Linked DNA regions of Homo sapiens: all the other regions are linked to region 3. Evidence: promoter capture Hi-C in 16 types of primary human blood cells and fetal thymus (Javierre and others, 2016). All regions are on one chromosome and are shown on one strand. The core of a region is centred on a gene start or on the middle of the fragment in contact, and the rest is flanking DNA. Distances in the headings are between cores, read along the strand shown. Region 1 overlaps ABCC5 (ATP binding cassette subfamily C member 5). Region 2 overlaps ABCC5 (ATP binding cassette subfamily C member 5). Region 3 holds the start of CAMK2N2 (calcium/calmodulin dependent protein kinase II inhibitor 2).

The links. The method cuts DNA at HindIII sites, captures the fragments that hold promoters and counts their contacts. A CHiCAGO score of 5 or more calls a contact.
Region 1: a fragment that was not itself captured here is called in contact with the fragment with the promoter of CAMK2N2 in region 3 in 1 of 17 cell types (M1 macrophages); the score reaches 5.1 in M1 macrophages.
Region 2: a fragment that was not itself captured here is called in contact with the fragment with the promoter of CAMK2N2 in region 3 in 1 of 17 cell types (M1 macrophages); the score reaches 5.3 in M1 macrophages.

What each region holds. Positions count from the first base shown.
Region 1 is chr3:183,977,039-183,979,738 of GRCh38, reverse strand. ABCC5 (ATP binding cassette subfamily C member 5) reads left to right here. Exons shown (of 30, transcript NM_005688.4): 9 at 1,088-1,236; 10 at 2,115-2,222. Among named protein-coding and RNA genes, the nearest start is that of ABCC5-AS1, 28 kb to the left of the region's middle. The HindIII fragment of the contact is 2,012 bases long and covers 316-2,327 here.
Region 2 is chr3:183,960,264-183,962,963 of GRCh38, reverse strand. ABCC5 (ATP binding cassette subfamily C member 5) reads left to right here. Exons shown (of 30, transcript NM_005688.4): 16 at 1,310-1,453. Among named protein-coding and RNA genes, the nearest start is that of ABCC5-AS1, 45 kb to the left of the region's middle. The HindIII fragment of the contact is 2,828 bases long and covers 1-2,700 here.
Region 3 is chr3:184,260,117-184,262,816 of GRCh38, reverse strand. CAMK2N2 (calcium/calmodulin dependent protein kinase II inhibitor 2) reads left to right here and starts at 1,264. Exons shown (of 2, transcript NM_033259.3): 1 at 1,264-1,700; 2 at 2,590-2,700. The coding sequence starts at 1,532. The coding sequence ends at 2,660. The region is part of intron 2 of EEF1AKMT4-ECE2 (EEF1AKMT4-ECE2 readthrough); the gene reads right to left. RefSeq lists enhancers at 1-172, 2,058-2,609, 2,610-2,700. The HindIII fragment of the contact is 12,942 bases long and covers 1-2,700 here.

The DNA.
Region 1 (2,700 bases), core at 72-2,571, 280 kb after region 3:
CATGGTAGTGCACATCTGTGGTCCCAGCTACTTGGGAGGCTAAGATGGGAGGATCACTTGAGCCATGGAGGTTGAGGCTGCGGTGAGCCGTGATTGTGCCACTGCACTCCAGCCTGAGCAACAGAGCGAGACCTCGTCTGAAAAAAAAGTATCTTATTGTTCTGCTTCCTGCTCCACGGTCTTCAGTACACTATGGTTGCTTTGCTAATATGGGGGTTGATTTTGCAAATATTTAAGAAAAATCATTCTGCCTATAGAAATTGTATTTCACCTATCTTCTTCCGGTTGTCATTACTGCATTTTTATATGGAAGCTTCTATCCCACTGCCAACATACAGCAGGCACTCTGGGAAATGTTAGTTCCCTCCCCACTGCCCCTTTTTTTTTTTTTTTTGAGATAAGGCCTGGCTTTGTCACCCAGTCTGGAATACAGCGGTGCAATCTCGGTGCACTGCAACTTCCACCTCCCAGGTTCAGGCAATTCTCCGGCCTCAGCCTCCCAAGTAGCTGGGATCATAGGCGTGTACTACCACACCCGGCTAATTTTTGTATTTTTAGCAGGGACGGGGTTTTGCCGTGTTGGCCAGGCTGGTCTCGAACACCTGACCTCAGGTGATTCCCCCTGCTTTGGGCCTCCCAAAGTACTGGGATTATAGGCATGAGCCACCGCACCTGGCCTCTTAGTCCCTCCCTTTTTAATTCTCCAGTGCCATTGTGTTGTCTTTCCTATTAATTCCTTAGGCAAAAAGTCAACAACAACCAGGTAAGCAAACACAACTGCCAATTATAGATACAATTAATGTGTTCATTCCTTCTCAACCTAAGAAATTTACAAGAAGAATCAGAAAAAGGTATCATAGAAGATGATGATTGAGTTCATACATAGTGACTGCTTTCTGTTAGATTCATTCCTGTCACTTGATCCATTTCAAACCTCAGCCTTTTATACCAGCTTTAGTGGTAGAGTTGATAGTCATAGGTGTTGAAGGGTGGCTGGAGACCTACAGAGTCTTGTTTGGAGGTGGAGGAACAACATCCCTAGGCTTCTTTTAACTTGCTTTGAAATTGGCTTGCTTTTTATTCATAGAAATCCGCGAGGAGGAGCGTCGGATATTGGAAAAAGCTGGGTACTTCCAGAGCATCACTGTGGGTGTGGCTCCCATTGTGGTGGTGATTGCCAGCGTGGTGACCTTCTCTGTTCATATGACCCTGGGCTTCGATCTGACAGCAGCACAGGTCAGGGAACCCTCAGGGATGGGGAACATTTTAGAAATACCACATTTGCTGGAGGCTGAGGCAGGAAAATCACTTGAACCCAGGTGGTGGAGGTTACAGTGAGCCAAGATCATGCCATTGCACTCCAGCCTGGGGGACAGAGCAAGACTCCATCTCAAAACAAAACAAACAAACAAACAAAAAAAAAATACCACATATGGAGATGATGCTGTGGTCCTCTCCTTACTGGACCTGGAGGTTCCCCCAAGAATTAGTAGGTATTTTTTCATTCATGGGATTAAGCTGAGAAGCAGAAGAGTGGGGAGCCAGCCCTTATGCACAAATAGTGTATGAGTTGTTTTTAGTCAACATAAGTTTGAGTTTAATTCTGAAATTACAGATCATCCTGTGGTTCATATTTACTGACAATTTTAATTGAAGGTCTCAAAAACTCTACTTAAAAAAAAATGTGGCCAGGCATGGTGGCTCACGCCTGTAATCCCAGCACTTTGGGAGGCCGAGGCGGGCGGATCACTTGAGGTCAGAAGTTTGAGACCAGCCTGGCCAACATGGTGAAACCCTGTCTCTACTAAAAATACAAAAATTAGCTGGGCATAGTGGTGCATGCCTGTAATCCCAGCTACTCGGGAGGCTGAGGCAGGAGAATTGCTTGAACCTGGGAGGTGGAAGTTGCAGTGAGCCAAGATCGTGTCACTGCACTCCAGCCTGGGCGACAGAGCGAGACTCCGTCTCAAAAAAAAAAAAATGTAATTGACTTGTAATAACAGCTGACCGTGAAGTTGCAGCCTTCCTAGCGCCTGAGAGGAAATTCATGGTGTCAGGTTACTTCAGTTGCATAGCATCATTAGGCACAGTTTCTTCTCTTCTCCTATTTTCAGGCTTTCACAGTGGTGACAGTCTTCAATTCCATGACTTTTGCTTTGAAAGTAACACCGTTTTCAGTAAAGTCCCTCTCAGAAGCCTCAGTGGCTGTTGACAGATTTAAGGTAAGTGGCTCCTTCCCCTGCCCCCGTGTCAGGAGCCCTCCCCACACAACTAACTGCTGGCTCTGTTCAAGGGGCCACCCAGGCTGGCCTCACTGGGCTTAAGCTTGGCTTTGGCCTTTTGGCAAGTTGGTAAGAAAAAGGGGGCAGTGGAGGAGACTGAATTGAGGGATGAGACTTGTCACCTTTTTTAATTAATGTGAATTTTTACCTTTTGTGAACGGCCATGATCTGGGCTCCCAGGATTGCAGAGTTCCCCTTTAGAGCTAGCCCCTTCCACCTGGGCCTGACATGGATGTGTCGCAACTCACTGGGCCTTGAAGTGGCTTAAACCTAGAAGACCAGCACTGTGGGGCATCTTCCCCTTGATCTTTGCTACTGTCACTTTGATTGATTGACATGCTGAATCCTTTTTGATACTTTCTTTTTCCTGCCCTGTGGTGCTACTCACGATGCAGGGAAAGCAGTTACATGGAAATAG
Region 2 (2,700 bases), core at 86-2,585, 300 kb after region 3:
GTCACGTTTAGGGGGCAAACCCTCCATTCTGCCAAAGAAAGTCATAATTATGTATATTTGTGAGTGCAGTGAAAGGGTGTAAATTTAATGCAGGGCTCATGTGGCTCCATCAGCAGATTCATGTGAAAAACCGGAGGGACTCGGCCAGGCACAGTGGCTCACGCCTGTAATCCCTGCACTTTGGGAGGCTGAGGCTGGCGGATCACCTGAGGTCAGGAGTTCGAGACCAACTGGTGAAACCCCATCTCTACTAAAAATACAAAAATTATCCAGGCATGGTGGCACGTGCCTGCAATCCCAGCTACTCAGGAGGCCGAGGCAGGAGAATCCCTTGAACCCAGGAGGTGGAGGTTAAAGTGAGCTGCGATTGCATCATTGCACTCCGGCCTGGGCAACAAGAGCAAGACTCTGTCACAAAAAAAAAAAAAAAAGAAAAAAACTGGAGGAACTGCTCCTTATACTATGTCACGAGGCACAATACACTGAAGTGGGGTTCTCAGTGTTGGCACCACTGATGTTTTGGACCAGATAGTCCATTGTTGTGTGGGGCTGCTTTGTGCACCCCTGGCCTCTAGCCACTAGATACCAGTAGAGACAGTCGCTGGCTTACGGTTCAACTTACAGTTTTTTGACTTTATGATGGTTTCCACACAACCATTCTGTTTTTCACTTTCAGCATAGTATTGAAAAAAATTGCATGAGATATTAAACATTTTATTATAAAATAGGCTTTGTGTTAGATGATTTTGCCCAACTGTAGGCTAATGTAAGGGTTCTGAGCATGTTTAAGGTAGGCTAGGCTAAGCTCTGATATTTTCAATTTACGTTGGGTTTATCAGGATGTAAGCCCATTGTAAATTGAGGAGCATCTGTGTACCTCTCCCCCGAGTTGTGACAACCAAAAATGTCTCCAGCTGGGCGCGGTGGCTCAGGCCTGTAATCCCAGCACTTTGGGAGGCCGAGATGGGCGGATTACCTGTACGGCAAAACCCCGTCTCTACTAAAAATACAAAAAAATTAGCCAGACATGGTGCTGCATGCCTGTAGTCCCAGCTATTCGGGAGGCTGAGGCAGGAGAATCGCTTGAACCCAGGAGGCGGAGATTGCAGTGAACCGAGATTGCGCCACCACGCTCCAGCGTGAACGACAGAGCAAGACTCTGCCTCAAAAAAAAAAATGTCTCCAGATGCTGCCAAATGTCTTCTGGGAGCTTAACTCGTCTCCTGTAGAGAACTACTGAACTAATGTATGGGTTTTTGAATGTATTTGCACAAACAGCATATTGTGTTGTCTCTGCCTTTGCCTTCAGTACCTGGTTGACTGTGATGAAGTGATCTTCATGAAAGAGGGCTGTATTACGGAAAGAGGCACCCATGAGGAACTGATGAATTTAAATGGTGACTATGCTACCATTTTTAATAACCTGTTGCTGGGAGAGACACCGCCAGTTGAGGTAAGATCTGATGGTGTTTGCGTGTGTCCCCTTCTGTCTCTGCAAGGGAAACACAGCCGGAGTGAGTGATGGAGAGACCTCAGCTGAATCCAGTGTCTGTGTCTTATTGGCAGGGGCCCTGTTTTCTGGTGAACAGACTGCTGTGCCTTAGTTCACACACTGATTCTGCTCTAGGAGAGCAGGATTGTGGGGCTGGTGAGCTGAGGTCTTCTGTCACTGAGAACTTACTAATATGACAATGGCAGGGAGAAGGATATGGGCTCAGTGAGGGCAGAGAAGATGTGTGCTGCTGTTCATTCACAGCTTAGTTTCCTAAGCTCCATCCACCTGATTGAAGCATTATGAAGCTCTTTTTTAAATAAACAAGTGAATAAAGTGCCAAGGTAGGGAAATTAAATATTGCATACATTTGAAAGCACTCAGGTCAGGTGCTGCGGCTCTTGCTGGTAATCCCAGCATTTTTGGAGGCTGAGGTGGACAGATTGCTTGCGCCCAGGAATTCGACACCAGCTTGGGCAACATAGAGAGAAACCCCGTCTTTACAAAAAAATACAAAAATTAGCCAGGTGTGGTGGCAGGCGCCTGTAATCCCAGCTACTTGGGAGGGTGAGGCAGGAGAATCGCTTGAACCCAGGAGGCAGAGGTTGCAGTGAGCTAAGATTGCACCACTGCACTCCAACCTGGGTGACAGAGCGTGATTCCATCTCAAGAAAAAAAAAAGACATAAGAGAAACTTGGAAAGGAGAGCATTAAGTAGTTTCTGTTATCTCAGGTAGAACCCTGATGGCTGTTTATTGAGTCCCTGTGTGCCCTGTTATAGGCAGTTCTCAGGGGTAGGGCCTGTGCAGGTTGTAACCATGTGAGAGACATCATCTCTGTCCTTAAGGGACTCACAGTGTTCTAGGGAAGACCGATGCTTTTATGCTCTTACAAGCACTTACAAATGTGGCTTACAAGACCACATCACATGTATAGTACTAATGGAGTTCTAAGGGCGAATGGGAGGGTGAGCTTTCCAGGGAGTGTATGTTGCCTCATGAAGAATGGAAGACTTGAATCTATCTGAATGGGGACAACTGTGACTGCGATTGGGACAAGGGGAGGGGCATTCCAAGTGGAGGAACGAGTGTGGACCAAAGTAGAGAAATGGGAAATTGCAGTGTGGTGTAAGGAATGGTGTGAAGTCCAGTGTGGCTTGAGAGTAGGGGCTGTGGACACCAGTGAGATGGGAGAGGAGCTTGCAGGAT
Region 3 (2,700 bases), core at 15-2,514:
ACAGGGTGATCATTACCGTTTTCAGCGCTGCCGTCACTGTCGCCGCATGTGAGACACCCCCTCCTCCCCAAGGCCAGTGATTGCGCCAGAGCTCCTGCGCGCTGGCAAGCAGGTGACGCCGCGGGTGACGGCCAGCCAGGGCGGGGGTTGTGGGGGCGGGAGGCAAGGGGAGAAGAGGGCATGTTCCCATCGGTGAGGCGAGAACTCACCCGTGGTCCAAAGCAACGAGGGCGGGGGGCACCCTCCATCTCTACCGCACTCCCTCGGGGCACACACTGGCGCGCTCCGCGTCCTCAGGTGCTCCGAGCTTCCCCGCGTCACCCGCAGCCCAGGGCGCCCCCCGCGACGCCGCCATTCATTCCTCCTACACTGCGAGCGCACCACTCCAGAGCCGCGGGGGGCTACAGCCACCGGACTAGGGCTGGGGGTGTCTGCCCTGGTGCGCGCGCGTCGGCCCAGTTTCTATAGACCCCTCCTAGGAGAGACTGAAATACCCAGATTCAGGAGACGGAGACACTGGCACAGAGATACAGGAGTCAAGAATGGAGATAGATAGAGAAAGGCAGACACTTAAGGGACAGGCATAGACAAAGGCCATAACACAGCGAAAGAGATACGGGGCACAGAGACAGAGAGATACAGACACTTAGAGATGGACTGACACACACAAAGGCGGAGACAGAGACACAGACCGGCACTCAGAGGCGCACGGACCCTGACGATCTACTTAAGACCAGCAGAGCAACTAGTACAAGAGCGCGTCAGCGGCAAGGGCACCATCCCACTGGCCCGAGCTCTTCCCGCGCTGTGGGTTCGTGCCTTCCCCAGTCACCCTGTACCCGAGTCTCCTCCCCGCGCATTTCCCGCTCCCCGCTTTCCATTGCCAGCCCTGCGGCCGCCTTCCCGCCCCAACGCGCCCGGCCAGCTTTTGCCCTCCTGCTCCCAGTCCCCCTTGCACGCCTCTCCCAGCCTAGGGGTCAGACCCTCCTCCAAGCTCCTCCAGTACCAGGCTCGATCCCACCCCCCTTCGGTCCCGCCCCTCCCCGCGAGGTCCCGGCCGGGTTGGCTGGTACTATTCCCCAAGACCCACGTGCTGGCCATTCCCCGCCACAGTGCGGGAACCTCCCACTCCAGCTGCCTCTGTTCCCGGGGTAGCTGGGCGCGCTCCTGCCCCCGGCCCCGCCTCTTTCCCCTGGCCAGTGCCCGCCCCGCCTCCACCGCGCCCCGCCCGCCGTGCTCTGCCGCAGTCGGGCGCTCATCGTCATTCCGCTCTTGCCGCCGCCGCCGCCACCCCCGCCCCCCGCCCCCGCCCCCGCCCGGTCCCCGCCACCGCCGCCGCCGCCGCCTGCCCAGCGGCCCGGGAGGCGGAGGCGCGGGGGAGGAGGCCCCGCTTGGCTCCTCAGCCCCGGATGCTGCATGACTTCATCCTTCCGCCGGCTCCCCTGCTGAGGTAGGGCCGGTCCGGCAGCAAGCCCGCCGCCCGCGCCCCGCCGCAGTCCCGCTCCCGCCCCGCGCCCACCCCGCGCCCGCCATGTCCGAGATCCTGCCCTACAGCGAAGACAAGATGGGCCGCTTCGGCGCAGACCCCGAGGGCTCCGACCTCTCCTTCAGCTGCCGCCTGCAGGACACCAACTCCTTCTTCGCGGGCAACCAGGCCAAGCGACCCCCCAAGCTGGGCCAGATCGGCCGAGCCAAGCGAGGTACGCGGCCCGGGCCCGGAGTCGCCGCCTGACCCAGAAACCCTCCGCCGGGCGCCCCCCGGCTGCCGTTCCCCGCCGAGTGCCCGCAGCTCTTGCCGCAGACCAGCGCACCAGCCGCTCTCCAGCCCGGGCTGGAGGGGGGGGTCCCCGCTGCAGTGTGTGTCCCCCTCTTCCCTTCTCCCGGGAACACGGTGCCCCGGATTCGATGCTCGCCACCTCTGGAAGCAGAGCCCTGGCACCCGGGCGAGGGGGAGGGGCCGGTCGGGGCATTTGGGGCTGCACGGAAGTGGGAGCACGGGGTAACGGGCTGATTCTTTGGGATCAAATACTGAGTCGGTGGACAATACGAAGAACCTTCGGGTCGAGAGGGACGTCTAACAAGAGAGGGCAGGAGGCCGGGGGTCCGCTTGTCTTGGTTGTTTGCATGGGGAGGGGAGCTCTGTTGGTGCCAGGATCGGAAGAGGGGTTCCAGCGGCGAGAGGGCTCAGGTTGAGGAGAGGGCTGGACCAGCTGGATACTCGGTTTGAGCCCCATTTGAGCAGGGGGATCTGTTGAAGTGCGGGTTGAAGAGGGGGATTCCGTGAGCAAGAGGTTTCTGATCAACTCAGAGGGAGGAAGGCTCAGGTGGCAGGAGGGCTCGCACTGGGAGGGAGAATAGCTGGAGCCTTTGGAAGAGGGGCGTTCCGCCATCGGGAGGGGAGGGGGTCTAGGCTTGGCGGCGGGTTGGGTCTCCAGAAGAGTTCGGACGGGGAGGACACCGCGGCACAGGGTTCCGAGGGGCGTCGCTGGGCCACGGGCAGTAGCTGCGCGGGAAGCTAGGACGCGGGGCTCATTCTCATCGCCGCCGCCCCCCGAGGCCGCGCGGCTGACGCGCTTTCTCCCTGCGCAGTGGTGATCGAGGATGACCGGATAGACGACGTGCTGAAGGGGATGGGGGAGAAGCCGCCGTCCGGAGTGTAGACGCGCCGGCTCGGGCGGCGGGCTCCGGGCCCAGCCTCGC